4 separate regions of the Homo sapiens genome follow, and regions 1, 2 and 4 are each linked to region 3. Evidence: promoter capture Hi-C in human tissues and cell types (Jung and others, 2019). All regions are on one chromosome and are shown on one strand. Each heading gives the region's core, a stretch centred on a gene start or on the middle of the fragment in contact. The rest is flanking DNA. Distances are from core to core; before and after follow the strand shown.

What was found. Contacts are between HindIII fragments. The study calls those that stand out against the background at their distance.
Region 1: a contact is called between a fragment that was not itself captured here and the fragment with the promoter of ERCC8 in region 3, in 1 of the 25 tissues and cell types used here (dorsolateral prefrontal cortex).
Region 2: a fragment that was not itself captured here is called in contact with the fragment with the promoter of ERCC8 in region 3 in 1 of the 25 tissues and cell types used here (dorsolateral prefrontal cortex).
Region 4: a contact is called between a fragment that was not itself captured here and the fragment with the promoter of ERCC8 in region 3, in 1 of the 25 tissues and cell types used here (dorsolateral prefrontal cortex).

Annotation. Positions count from the first base shown.
Region 1 is chr5:59,792,015-59,794,954 of GRCh38, reverse strand. All of the region lies in intron 1 of PDE4D (phosphodiesterase 4D), which reads left to right. It overlaps LOC105378988 (a long non-coding RNA gene), which reads right to left. Exons shown (of 2, transcript XR_001742413.2): 2 at 1-127. Among named protein-coding and RNA genes, the nearest start is that of MIR582, 90 kb to the right of the region's middle. The HindIII fragment of the contact is 5,222 bases long and covers 1-2,940 here.
Region 2 is chr5:62,221,496-62,224,772 of GRCh38, reverse strand. No RefSeq gene overlaps it. Among named protein-coding and RNA genes, the nearest start is that of KIF2A, 83 kb to the left of the region's middle. RefSeq lists a silencer at 1,149-1,298. The HindIII fragment of the contact is 5,325 bases long and covers 1-3,277 here.
Region 3 is chr5:60,943,509-60,946,758 of GRCh38, reverse strand. It overlaps ERCC8 (ERCC excision repair 8, CSA ubiquitin ligase complex subunit), which reads left to right and starts at 1,689. Exons shown (of 12, transcript NM_000082.4): 1 at 1,689-1,827. The coding sequence starts at 1,751. NDUFAF2 (NADH:ubiquinone oxidoreductase complex assembly factor 2) reads right to left here and starts at 1,554. Exons shown (of 4, transcript NM_174889.5): 1 at 1,377-1,554. The coding sequence starts at 1,503. RefSeq lists an enhancer at 789-918. The HindIII fragment of the contact is 9,089 bases long and covers 1-3,250 here.
Region 4 is chr5:62,139,171-62,142,135 of GRCh38, reverse strand. No RefSeq gene overlaps it. Among named protein-coding and RNA genes, the nearest start is that of KIF2A, 170 kb to the left of the region's middle. The HindIII fragment of the contact is 5,532 bases long and covers 1-2,965 here.

The DNA.
Region 1 (2,940 bases), core at 185-2,684, 1.2 Mb after region 3:
AACTCAGGCAGCTTCTCTCCAGGATCCACCCTGAGTGATGAGCTGTGTCCCAGGCTGGAGAAGAGCCATGCTGCCCACTGTCTGGGCCTATCTACAAGCTCTTTCATTCATTCTTGGATTTTTCCAGCTGAAAAAAAGTGTTATATGAAGGATCAGAGATGGCATCTTAAACTTTTTTTTGCACAATTCATCATTAATTCACTGTTTTTTAAACTGTTGTCACAAAGAGTTGTTTTGAATGCCTTGATGAACTATGTTTTGTTTGTTTTATTATATTTTCACTTGAGATTTTTACTGTGAAGCATGCTATTTTGAAGACAAAATTTTTAAAAATAGAGAAGGGCAAGAAGAATGGTGGACAATGCAGGAGGTGACAATTGGTATAATTACAGTAAACATTTATAGGTCAGTGGAACATAAGCCCTGAGGGAAGGCTCTGAAAGCGGACCTGCAAGCAGGAGGGAGGGAGGGAAGGAGGGAGGCAGCCCTCGCAGGCTGCCGGGAAGCACCAGGGATGTCGTGCCTCACTGTGCCAGCCTCACAGATGGCATCTCAGCGACATGGCTGTTCTTTTGTCTTTTCTTCATGAGCATCTTAGAGAAGCGCATTTATGCACATTTCTACCTACAAAGTTTTGCCTCAGTGTGACTCATCTTCTTTCTGTCTCAGATAGGATTACTCTTCAAAGGAAAGATAAAAAAACAAGTTCTGAATATAAAGATGAAGCCAACTGCAGGGCTTGTTGAATTACCTCAGAGATAGCTAGAGTTGTCTGTGTGTGTGTGTGTGTGTGTGTGTGTGTGTGTGTGTGTGTGTGCGCCTCTGTGTGTGTGTCTGTGTATCTGTCCATGTCTGTGTGTATGTCTGTGTCCATGTCTGTATGTGCATCTGTGTGTGTGCATGTGCCTGTGCATGTGTGTCTGTGCATGTGTGTGTATACACATGAGTGCAATGTCCCATATTGGCAAATACCACATGGTAACGTCCTGCACGCCACAGGAGCTGTATATATGAGCTGTATTTTCATGATGGCCCACTGGGATAGGGATTAAATCAGATGATCACCATTTATACCTAAGTAGTAACACTTAAAAATGCAATTGCTCTCTGTCACCACGGCTTAATCTATGAGCCCCTAAGGGGAAAAAATTCTTACATTAAAAAAGCCATTTCATATATAGATAAATGTTGAATAGGCAGGTGTTGATCAGAAGGTCTAATCCCCATCCACGTGAAATGAACAAGTCAAGCAGATAATTGTTTTACTAGAGCTTTCCTTTGCATTAAATGTGCCTGGAAAACATTTCTAAAACCATTCTTTTCTTTTTGGTTGAACCATTATGAATGAATCTTCATCCTTTAAAAGGCTAGATGTTCATGTTCAACTGTTTTGGCAACTGACCTAAACCAATATTATTATGAACACATTTTGGTTGTTTTGGTTGGACATTGGTAACTGCCAGTGAAGTTGGAGGTGAGAGGAGTTAACTACTTCCTTATAATGTCACCACCTAATTAGAATAAAAGCATCTTAGATTAAATTCTGATTTACATAAGGACATTTATTAACTAAACAATTATTCAGCAGGCATGAAATAAACAAATCATATGACTAGTTCTCTCTCTAGGTGCTTGGCCACCGTTTGCAAGCTTCCCTTAAGGCACAAAATCCAAAATTCCAGAGTCAATATTTCATCATCACTATAGACAAAAGTTTGTGGTATTCACAGCTGGACGCTGGACATCTCCCAGGACGTGGTTCCTGAGTCATTCTGCCTCTGAGTGTGTTGCTCCCATGGAAATCATGCACCTCCACGGAACTCACTCAGGCTCCTCGGGGACTCCTGAGTCTGCAGTCAGATTGCTAGTCTTGCTCTGATTTCCTACCTATCGGACATTCCATTTGACTGTCTTGCCACTGAACTCAATGGGTGTAAGCTGACTCTTCTTCCCTGCATATCAGCATCCTCCTGACTTCCCCACTTCTGTGAATGTCATGATCATTCTTTCTGCCACCTAAGCTTGAAGCCTACAGTCATTTTTTAACACAGCCACCTTCAGCTCCAATTCCAATTCCAATCAGTCACTCTTTTCTCAAATCTCCCTTCATACCAGTTCCTGTCCTTCTGTCTCTTCTACCCTAAGCCAGAGCCATATCTCTGCAGATCAAGGGCCTTTTTGTTCTGTTTCTTCCCCAGTCAATTAGTTTACATGATGCCAAACCCATCTTCTTAAAACCACCTGGATTAGATCACTCCTCTGTTTGAAGATTTCCAAAGAGGCCTTATTTTGTAGTGGAAAATGTCCAAACTCCTTTGCATATTCACTTATTCTCAGCATGCTTTTACCACCTTGCGTTCTTCTCCTTCACGGCACAAACCTCTATGCCAGCTGGATTTTCCATCCATAATCCCCCAAATACATCACATGCATTGTTGCATTGGCCACCCTTGTTAGTGCTTTTTCCATGTGGTGTTCTTACTTTCCTCCTTCACTCCATGCCCACTTCCTCAAAACACACACACACACACACACACACACACACACACACAGCTTCTTGGAGCCTCAAAGTTGGTTGCTAGTATTTTAAGTGCCCGGAATTTGAAATGAAAAAAAATAAAAGTAAACTGGTTTTAAATGTAGGCGTTGCCACGTATTGGTTCTACTGTGGCCTCAGACTTGTTATGAAATATTTCCAAGCCTTAGCTTCCACATGAGTACAATGGGAATAATGCCTACCATCCTATTGCCCATCCTTAATTAATCTTAGTTCCGTTTCTGTGCCACGTTTCCTCCCCAGGGAAGCCCTTTATACCCTTACTACTCATGGATTTATCTCTTCTCTGAGCCCATAGAACTGAGTTCTGTTGTCACTGCTTTAGTAAAGTCACCATTTGCTTGTTTAAGGTCCCTCTTCTATTTTCACTTATTGTGTTTCGG
Region 2 (3,277 bases), core at 124-2,623, 1.3 Mb before region 3:
ACTGGCTAGAGGAAGTTTGTGTTTATAATTTTATTAGCTTATCATTTTGGGTTGGAAATTTTTGTTCTATAGCCGCAATGCAGACTAGCCTGCAATGCCACCACCGTCTCTATCCTTGCTTGTCTGCTTTGGTACCTTTTTCCCTTGGACTTCCCAGAGGGTAGAACAGAGGGCAGCCCGGTGTTAGAGCCCTGATAATGGGAGGGAAAATGTTCCAAATATTCTAAATGGGGCAACTGTTTCTACACTTGGGTCAGCTGGAAGACTCTTCCAGCTTCATGGTGTATTTGTTGGCTTGCTTGCTTTCTGTTTGTCATTCTCAGATTCTCCACAAATATTCATCCTGTGTTTCTAACCCCCATGTTTTCTCTCACTCAACACAGGCTCATATTTGAACCAGAAGATCATCTAGTACAAATTTCTCACATGCTTGATGAGGAGACTGAGGTGTGAGTAGGGTAGCTGCTCTCAGGTTACAGAAAGGGGTGGCTGTCCAGTGGAGCTGTGTCCCAGCACTGCTCATGGTGGCCCAGTAATACTTGCAGGCCAGTGTTCTTTCTGTGACCATCCAACTCCTCAACATCTGCTTTTCATTTCCTTCCTCCATCCCTATAAACATCCCCTACACCCAGAAACGCGCCCCGCTATGCGCGTGCGCGAGGGCGCGCGCGCGCGCACACACACACACACACACACACACACACACACACACACACACACTCTCTCTCTCTCTCTCTCTCTCTCTCTGTTTTCTTCTTTCTGCAAATCCCCTTCCCTTCCCATCTTGGCAAGCTGCCCAAAGTATGAAAAATTAGGCAAGTTGAACCTTTAAAAAATCCTTTATTTTAGAATAAACCCAAAGGAAACCTCAGCTGTCCAACTTTCACTAACTAAATTATGCAGTGTTTCCTTCTGTTCCTTCGTCTTTATTTATTTTTATGGGTTAAGGCTTTGACGGGGGGGGGGGAAAAAGGTTTATTTGTTACACTCCAGAGGAGAAAGAACTTGAAGGAGGAAATAGAAAACAAAAGGAAAGGTGAGCCGAAGGATTAAATAACGAATCAAGGGAACACGAAATACAAATCTGGACATGCCCACATGTACTTTTCCATTTAGAAACAGACCCAAGAAACAAGTGGTGCGTTTACCCATTTTTTCGAGACTAAAGCCCTTGCTTAGTAGTCCCCGAAGTTAGCGTTAGCCTGCCCTCTAGTGGTGCCTGAAAACATGTGCTAGACTGTGGTGCCCAATGCAGAGCTTTGCTTGTCCCAGAGATAGACGCTTGAAAACCTCAAGATTAGAAGGAACGCTTCAGCAGCTTTCCAGTAAATACAGTAGGTGGAGACACACACTGGAAAACTGCAACCTAGGCAACATTGCTTTCGTTTGACTCTTAGAAGATTGCTAGGCACCCAGAGTTATTGAAACTCGGGTTGACCGTAATTTGTCATGCTTAATATTTCCTGCTTTTAAAAAATTGTTAAAAATGTTAATATATGGAGATTTTAAGCGCATACAGTTTATAAATCCATTGGCGCTTCATGCCATTAATTATCTTAAATACCCACCAAAAGCAGAAATTTGGGTGGTGGTATGGAGGTGCAAAGGTTAATAAGACACAGACCCTGTCCTTAAAACTTACTCTCTGTTTAAGAGAAGATCTATTTGAATGTAATTACAATACATGGCAGTGGTATAACAAAGAGACAGTTTAAATATATATATATATATGTTGAAATATATATATATGTTTAAATATATATATATGTATACACACGCACACATACACACACACACACAAAACTGTGCTAGGTATGTCCACATCTTACTTAATATTTACCACAACTATGTCTTTTTACTTAAGAAGAAAGGGAGGTTCAGAAAGGTTAAGTAACTTATCTTAGTTCAGATAGCAAAGAAATAGCAAAATTAGAATTAGAATTCAGGTATTTTGATTTTACTTTCATTTCAATTAACTTCAACAGAGCTTTATTGAGAATCTACCATGTACCAGGCACTATGCTACATGCTGAACATGCAAATATAGGAAATACCACTGGCCTCACGGTTATAGTCTTGTAGGGGACTGGGCTATGCAGAAACAAGCTGTATTGTGATATATGCAATAATGCAAGTTTGTACATATTACCTTCTGAGCAAAGCAGCAAAGAGTGTTCTTTTTCCATAAGTTGTTGACTTTCTGTCTTGTGACCCTGGTAAGTAACCATGATCGAACTGATCAAGAATCTGTAACTTGGCCAAAGGTAACCACAAAATTGTGCAAAACTACAGGATACATAGAGTAAATATTTTTGGGGTTTCATTATTACAGATGACGTTGAGGAGAGAAAAGTTTTACATTTTTACAATCTTAGGTTTACCAATGGGCTCTGGGAGGCCTAATAGCAGAATTCTGCCCAATAGTGGAGGCAACTCACTGACCCAACCAGTGAGAGCACAGGTAGTTTCCACTGTGAGAAACTCAACTACAGAACCAGAGTAGAATTAGAAAGAAACAAAAGTGGAGGTAACAGCTGAACTGGTGAGAAGCGGAAGCACAGAGAGGTGAAGGAGAGAAGTGGAATTGTGAGTATGGCACCGTCAGGAGTCAGGGGCCAAAGGTCCCTCTTCTCAAGGGGGTGCTACCATTACTGACTCAAAGGGGAGCCCTTACTGACATCCCAGGGCTCTGGGAGGCTGGACTGCAACCTGCCTAGTGTCATACCCGTGCTTCCTTATTGCCTTAAGTATCTTTCCAATCACCCACATCACCAGAGGTCACCCGAGACTACTTGATCTTTGCAACAGAAAGTGTAACTCCTGCAGCACCAAAGTGGTGCAGAGGAGAGTGAGGAAGTGTGGCTGGAAGGGTGGACGCAGCAGGGGCTTTACCAGGAGGCGATGCCAAAGCAGAGTTCTGAACTACAATGAGGGGTTCGCAAGGAAGACAGAGGGGTTTGCAAGGCAGGAGCTGCAACGAGGAGTTTGCAAAGAAGACAGAGGAAGGTACCTCCATAATTCTGTGTTTATTCCAGTACTGGACATAACCCATGGCAAACCTTAATTTCCAGGATCTCCTTTGTGTAATAACACCAGAAATCCTTTCTTCAGGAACCCTGGCTTTGAGAGAGTGGCATGAGAAAGGAGAATTTTCTCTTTTATGGAGGCTGTAAGTCCTGAAGCTTGATGTGCTGACCCTATTGTGTGGCCTTAAATATTGGCATATTCTTCTCAACTGGGATATGGGGATACAGCACTGGGGCCAGGGGATTGTGCA
Region 3 (3,250 bases), core at 440-2,939:
TTCTATTACTTGAATCCAGTGAGGTTACTCTACTCATTTGTCAAAAACAATAAAACTGTACACCATAAAGGGTGAATGTTACTGTATGTAAATTATATTTCAATTTAAAAAAACTCAGTCTGACAGTTTGCATATTTTTAATTTTACTGACAACTTATGGAAAAGAAACATCTCTCTGCTTGCAACCTGTCAAGAAATACTTAACACCATGCTATGTTCTTTGCAGGCTTTTTTCTTTTTTTGTGAGACATATTCCCTGCCTGACAGAGGAGCTCATTAGGGAAACAAGTCTAAATATTAAAATAAGTTACAGAAAAAGGCCAGGCAAAAATAAATTAATTGAGTGATAAATCACAGAATACATTTTATATGTGTGGGAAATGAATGGCACATAATCTTGGAAAGGTCTTAGTGCTTCTCAACATTGCTGATCTTATATTATCTCTAACTTTCAAGTGAGGATGTTGAGACTTGGAGAGGACAAGTACTTTTTCCGTGATTCCCGAGCTATCAGGTGTCAAAGCTGAGATTCTAACCCACGCCTCTTCGCCCAAAACCTGACATTTTCTGCATGCGGCGATGGAACAACACAGAAGAGGTTACGACGGCGGCTACACAGTGTGATTTCAATGGACAGCAACGCCTCCTTACTCCCCAAACAACCCGCTCAACTACTTGGCACGAATCCTACACAGTAACACCATGATTATTGCCACGTTTCTTAAATTGAGCTCAACGGGGTCTTGGAATGTCAACTCCCGAGAAAGGAATCAGCGAGCCTTGTGGGGATATGGACCTACTTCTGACAAGTCTTGGTAGTAAGGAAGGCGCATGGGGCCAGCGCCGGAGCCAGGGTGCCACCGAAAAGGGTAAACACCAAGAAAGAAGACAGCCGAGGCGCTGAAGATACTCCTCTTCAATTACACCACTCAGCTCTGGGTCACAAGGCGGGGAACAGCGTACGAAAAACCCCTCCCCTGGCCCTTCTAGCCCCTTTGGTGAAAGATTTCCGTGGACTTTTCCCTGCCTCCGTCGCCAGTCCAGGGCTAAAACTGAGGCTCCTCTACAGGCGTGGCTGGGAGGAAAGTGGTGGTGCGCCTTAACAGCGCAAGCAGCCCGGGGCACGCCGGGGGAAGGCGCTGGGTAGTAGGGACCGCGGACGCACGAGGCCGGGCCAAGGCGCCCAGAGCCGGGCCGGGTAGGGCTCCGATGCCAGAGTGAAGGGGTCGACAGGGGAGAACGAACTCGGGAAATTCTCTCCGGTGACACCCTAAGTGTCGCATGATGCGTTAGTTGACTAGGGGCTCTCACTTTTCCCTCCTTTACTGACCTCGCAATCACTGACCACGCAATCGCTGCCCACGCCGCCACCTCACCTCTCCAGTTCTTGTACTGCGGGATGTAGTAGTATTTGTTCCCGAATTGGTCCGTGCCCACGTGCTCCTTCACTTCCCTTGACAGCGATCTCCACAAGGCGCGGAACAAATCCTGAGACCAACCCATGCCGTCCACCCAGTTTCCAGCGCTGCCAGCAGCGGGACCCGCAGTAGGGGTAATGCTCCAGCCGCCGACCCAGCCCACCGAGGCGGAGAAGTCAGGTCGGCCTCCATCCTGGAGCCCTTCTAGTAACGGCGCTCACCATTGGCCGGATATATCACCGACTGACCAATGGGAGACTCTGCTGTTCCAGTCCCGCCCCTGAGCTCTGTCATGGCGACGTCCAGTGCTCCAGCCGGTGTGAGGACACGATATGCTGGGGTTTTTGTCCGCACGCCAAACGGGTTTGGAGGACCCTCTTCGCCTTCGGAGAGCAGAGTCAACACGGAGGTAAAGAAAACCTTACTTTTTGGCTAACAGGCCAGTTAGAATCTGGACCAATGACTGTAAGCTTTGCCCCACACTTTCCCGTCTCATCGCTCTCCTGCCACCAAACTATTATTTGCCCTCTAATGCTGTGTGGCTTGCTAAAATAGGATCCCTTTTATTTACTGGTAACAACTTGCAGGCGGGGGGCGGCGGGGGTGGGGGGGGTTCCCCGGGGGTGGGGGGGGGGTTCCCCCGCGGGCTCAGGTGAAGACACTATAAACCTAAATAAGAATACTTCGTTGTACTGTATTCCTTCTCTCTTAAGTTACTCCAAAGAATAACTGCCCTCCACGGACTCGTTCATTCATTCAGTCTGCATATTTAGTGAATTCCTACAGTGTGCCAGGCAGCCTATTAAAGGCAGAGGACACAGGCCAGGAATTGAACAAAGTTCAGAATGACTAGAGCGGAGAATTGGGGTAGGGACCATTGACAAGAGATGAAGTAGACAGAAACTAGATGAGGAAGAGCCTTGTGTACTTGAGTAGAGGTGTGAAGATGAGAATAAGGTAACAGCTATTGCATTTTGTTTTCTGCTTGGAGAATGGGTTGCAACTGAGAACAAGAGTGGGAGCCAAGTTAGGTAACTGTTGTGATTACACTTGTCCGGGAGAGAGTTGTTGGAAGCCTGGGCCACAGAGTTGCCAAGTAGAATAAAGATAGTGGAGAGATTTGAACAACGTCTGAGAAATAGAATCAACAGGCCATGGAAATTGAGTGGATACGTGAATGACAAAAAGAGAAGAATGAATAATGATTCCCAGATCTATGCCTTGTATAAGAAGTTGAATGTTGGTAATATACTCTGAGAGAGGGTTTTCCAAAGGGAAGAAGCAAGTTGTACTTTTAATTTTGCCCACATTAATTGAGGAACCTGTGAAGATATTTACTTGGAGAACACAGTTGCTTATGAGTTCTGCGTTCTGGAGAAATTTAAATATTAGTTTCCAACATTTTATCCATTACGTTTTCAATGTTGTGAAATATCTCTGAGAGTTCCTTTAATGTGTTTTTTTTGCCAGTGTCACTTCCTCTGACACATCATCAGCCTTTCATCACAATCACTTTTCCTCATTTATGTCTATAAGTTCACCTTCACTGATTTCCTCAGTCTGCATATCTAGAATGTCTCAAATGGCGGCAGTGTCATTGTTGCCACAATCAGCATGTTCCCACAGGCAGCTTTTTTTTCATTTGCTCCATTTATGTTTAATGCAAGTTTCACTTCTAGTATTATCACTCTTCTTTAGTGCACTTTCATTCTTTTGGCCAATTTCCTCTTTTAATCTGTAAAATTCCATGTGGGTTTATCTCAAGGGCACAGAAATATTAATAACAAACCTCCATGCTTTGCAGCCTGTGTGTGAACTGAATAACAGATGCA
Region 4 (2,965 bases), core at 203-2,702, 1.2 Mb before region 3:
AGTCACCTTGTTTCTTTCCCTAAAGCAGGTCCCTGTGTAGCTTTACTCTCTGCATTTCTTTCTACGTACATCCTTCTAGGCAGCTTTCTCCGTTGAAGAAGTCTAACCTTCGTGCTCTCTGAAATGATAGCTTACTGTTCCGAATTCAGGAATTCTCAGCCTTTTTGTGGTAGGATTATCACATTCTTGCCCTATTCTTATTTTGCTTCTGAGATAATAGCAAAGTGATTTAATATATATTTATTAAAAAAACAGTGAATCTGAATTTTGTTTTACGATGGGTACAGAAGCCCATGAGATTTTAACAACACCCCAGGGAAACCAATAAGTATGATTTCACCATTGAAATTACTATGTTGACATCCTGATGTCAAGGCCAATACACAACACATGTGCTTGAAGGAAATTTAAGCAGGAGTGTTCTATCTCCTAGTCAGGGGCTTCTGCCACTGTCTAGGTGGTCTTGGAAAGTCATAGCTGGAGGTTGAATGCTACTTTTTCTTTTGTTTTTGTCTCGCTCTGTCACCCAGGCTGGAGTGCAGTGGTGTGATCTTGGCTCACTGCAACCTCTGACCCCCGGGGTACAAGAGATTCTCCTGCCTCAGCCTCTTAAGGAGCTGGGGCTACAGGTTCACACCACCATGCCTGGTTAATTTTTGTATTTTTTTTTTTTTTTTCAGTAGAGACAGAGTTTTGCCCTCTTGGCCAGGCTGGTCTCAAACTCCTCGCCTCAAAAGATCTGCCCACCTCGGCCTCCCAAAGTGCTGGGATTACACACGTGAGCCACCGCGCCTGGTCGGATGTTACTATTTTATGTTATTTTATTTACTATCACACAAAATCCTTTGTCAGGTTATGGGCCAATTCTTCAAATTCAATTGAATGGCTTTGATAAGCTCCTCATTTGTCCCTTCTTGTAGCCCTGGGACCTGGACCTGATGCAGCAGCAGGGATTCTGAAACCCAGGGGGTTATCATCTACTTTCTTGTCTTGAATGTTGTTTTCTAGTTTTAGGATTCCAAGTGCTGTTCCACTCTTTAAATGTGATGGACTTCACCTCTGGATTTTTAATGGAACGAGTTTTCCAAGCATCATACCCATACTCTAGTCTTAACAAAAGGGGTGGAAGTTTAGAACATAGTATTGTAAGAAAATTAGAAAACAGAGTGCTAAACATTGAATCACCTAGGAATTGTGAGAGACAGTGGCAGGCTATCGTCAAACTGACTTGAAATATTGAGTGTTCATTAGCTGTTATAAAATTACATAATTATACTGCACACTTTGACATAGTCTTCTTTGTGGGTGTAAAGTAGTTGACTTTCATTTGACACAAAGATTCTAGTGGCAGAAAAAGGTAAAGGACACCTCATCCATCCGTACCCTATGCAGGAGAGGGCCTGGGTTTTAATTCTGTAATTGTCTTTCCCAAGTCCCTATTCCACAATTACCTTTTACGACTTTATGAATTGTTGCTGGCTTTGACATGAACTGGTGCTGGCTGCAGGCCTGACCTCCTCCTGTGCTGATAATCTCTTCTTTTATTATTTTTTCATCGCTTATGATGTGGTTTCACTATCACCATAATAATAATAATTTACTGAGGCTTGTTATCTGCCTTTTATTGGGCAGTGCCGATGTATTCCTAAAAACTGAAGCTAGGAAAGCTCTGGCCTTCTAAAGACTTCTTCCATGACTTTGGGCTTCAAAAACTTCTACTTCATTTACACTATATGTATTAACCCTGCCTGGTTCCATCTGTTGTCCTTTTATCCCTTCTTCCATATTCCAGCTTATCCTATTATTTGGTTTCTCTAGAGCCATACATCTGCCTTTTGCAAATACTCCTAGTCGTGAGTAACTGTTTCACATGATGATTAATTCAACAAAATAAAAAAATATTAGAAATGCATTTCTTTTTGTAAATTTAATCAATTTAAAATTCAGAAAATTCTACACTTATAACTTCCTTTTAAGTGTTCATTTATTATTGCAATGCCACTGAATGGCTGCATTACTTTTTTTGCTAAAAATTCAGAAATTTTAAAATTAGCAAGCTCTGTAGCTGTGGTTCTCAGCATCATTGTACTTTAGAATCACCTGGGAACATTCTAAACTCAGTTGCCCAAGCCACAGGCCCAGAAAATCTGATTCAAGTCAGTTGGGTGCTTAAACAGCCTTTTAGAGTAACTGAAAACCACCGCAGAGAAATATGAGGCTGACAATGCTAACGTTTGAACAGACACCAATATTGAGCAACAGACATTGGAACTGGTTCCTTTTGTCTTTCTTTGACTGATCTCCTAAGCTTTCATTTACAAAATGTGGTTTGCCTCATGGTATATCTTAATAGTATATGCCTTATGAATTTAAAAAGATTTTATTTAAAATAAGAAAACCATCATCTTTAAAACAAAGAGATTTTCATCAATGTTCTGTCTTTGAAATGTAAAATTTTTGTCAGTCATCTTTTTCATTTTGACAGCAATTCTAACAAGAGTTTACATTTTATTTAGGAAATGGTTCTTCTCAATTTGGAGCAGCTATGAAAATATTTTTTTAAAAGTACATACATGTATGGCCTGGCAATTGTATTTCTAGGAATGATTCCTGTAGAAATACTTGTACATATATATGAAGATTTTCACAGGAGCATTGAGTGCTATGGATAATACAAAACCAAACTACGGCAATAACAACAAAAACCAAAAGGACTATTATGAGGGCAATGGTTAAGTAAAATTAGGAATTCAGTGCAATGGAGGAGTATGCAGTTTGTAAAAATGAGTTGTGTATTCTGTCTTGGAAAGGCTTCTGTGGTAGATATTAAGTTAAAAGAAAAAACAAGAGGCAAAAATCTGTAAAACTGTATGATCCCTCCATTTACTTTTTTGTGTAAGAAGAGGACATTGTGTGTGTGTGTGTGTGTGTGTGTATGTGTGTGTGTATGTGTGTAAGCAAAGGC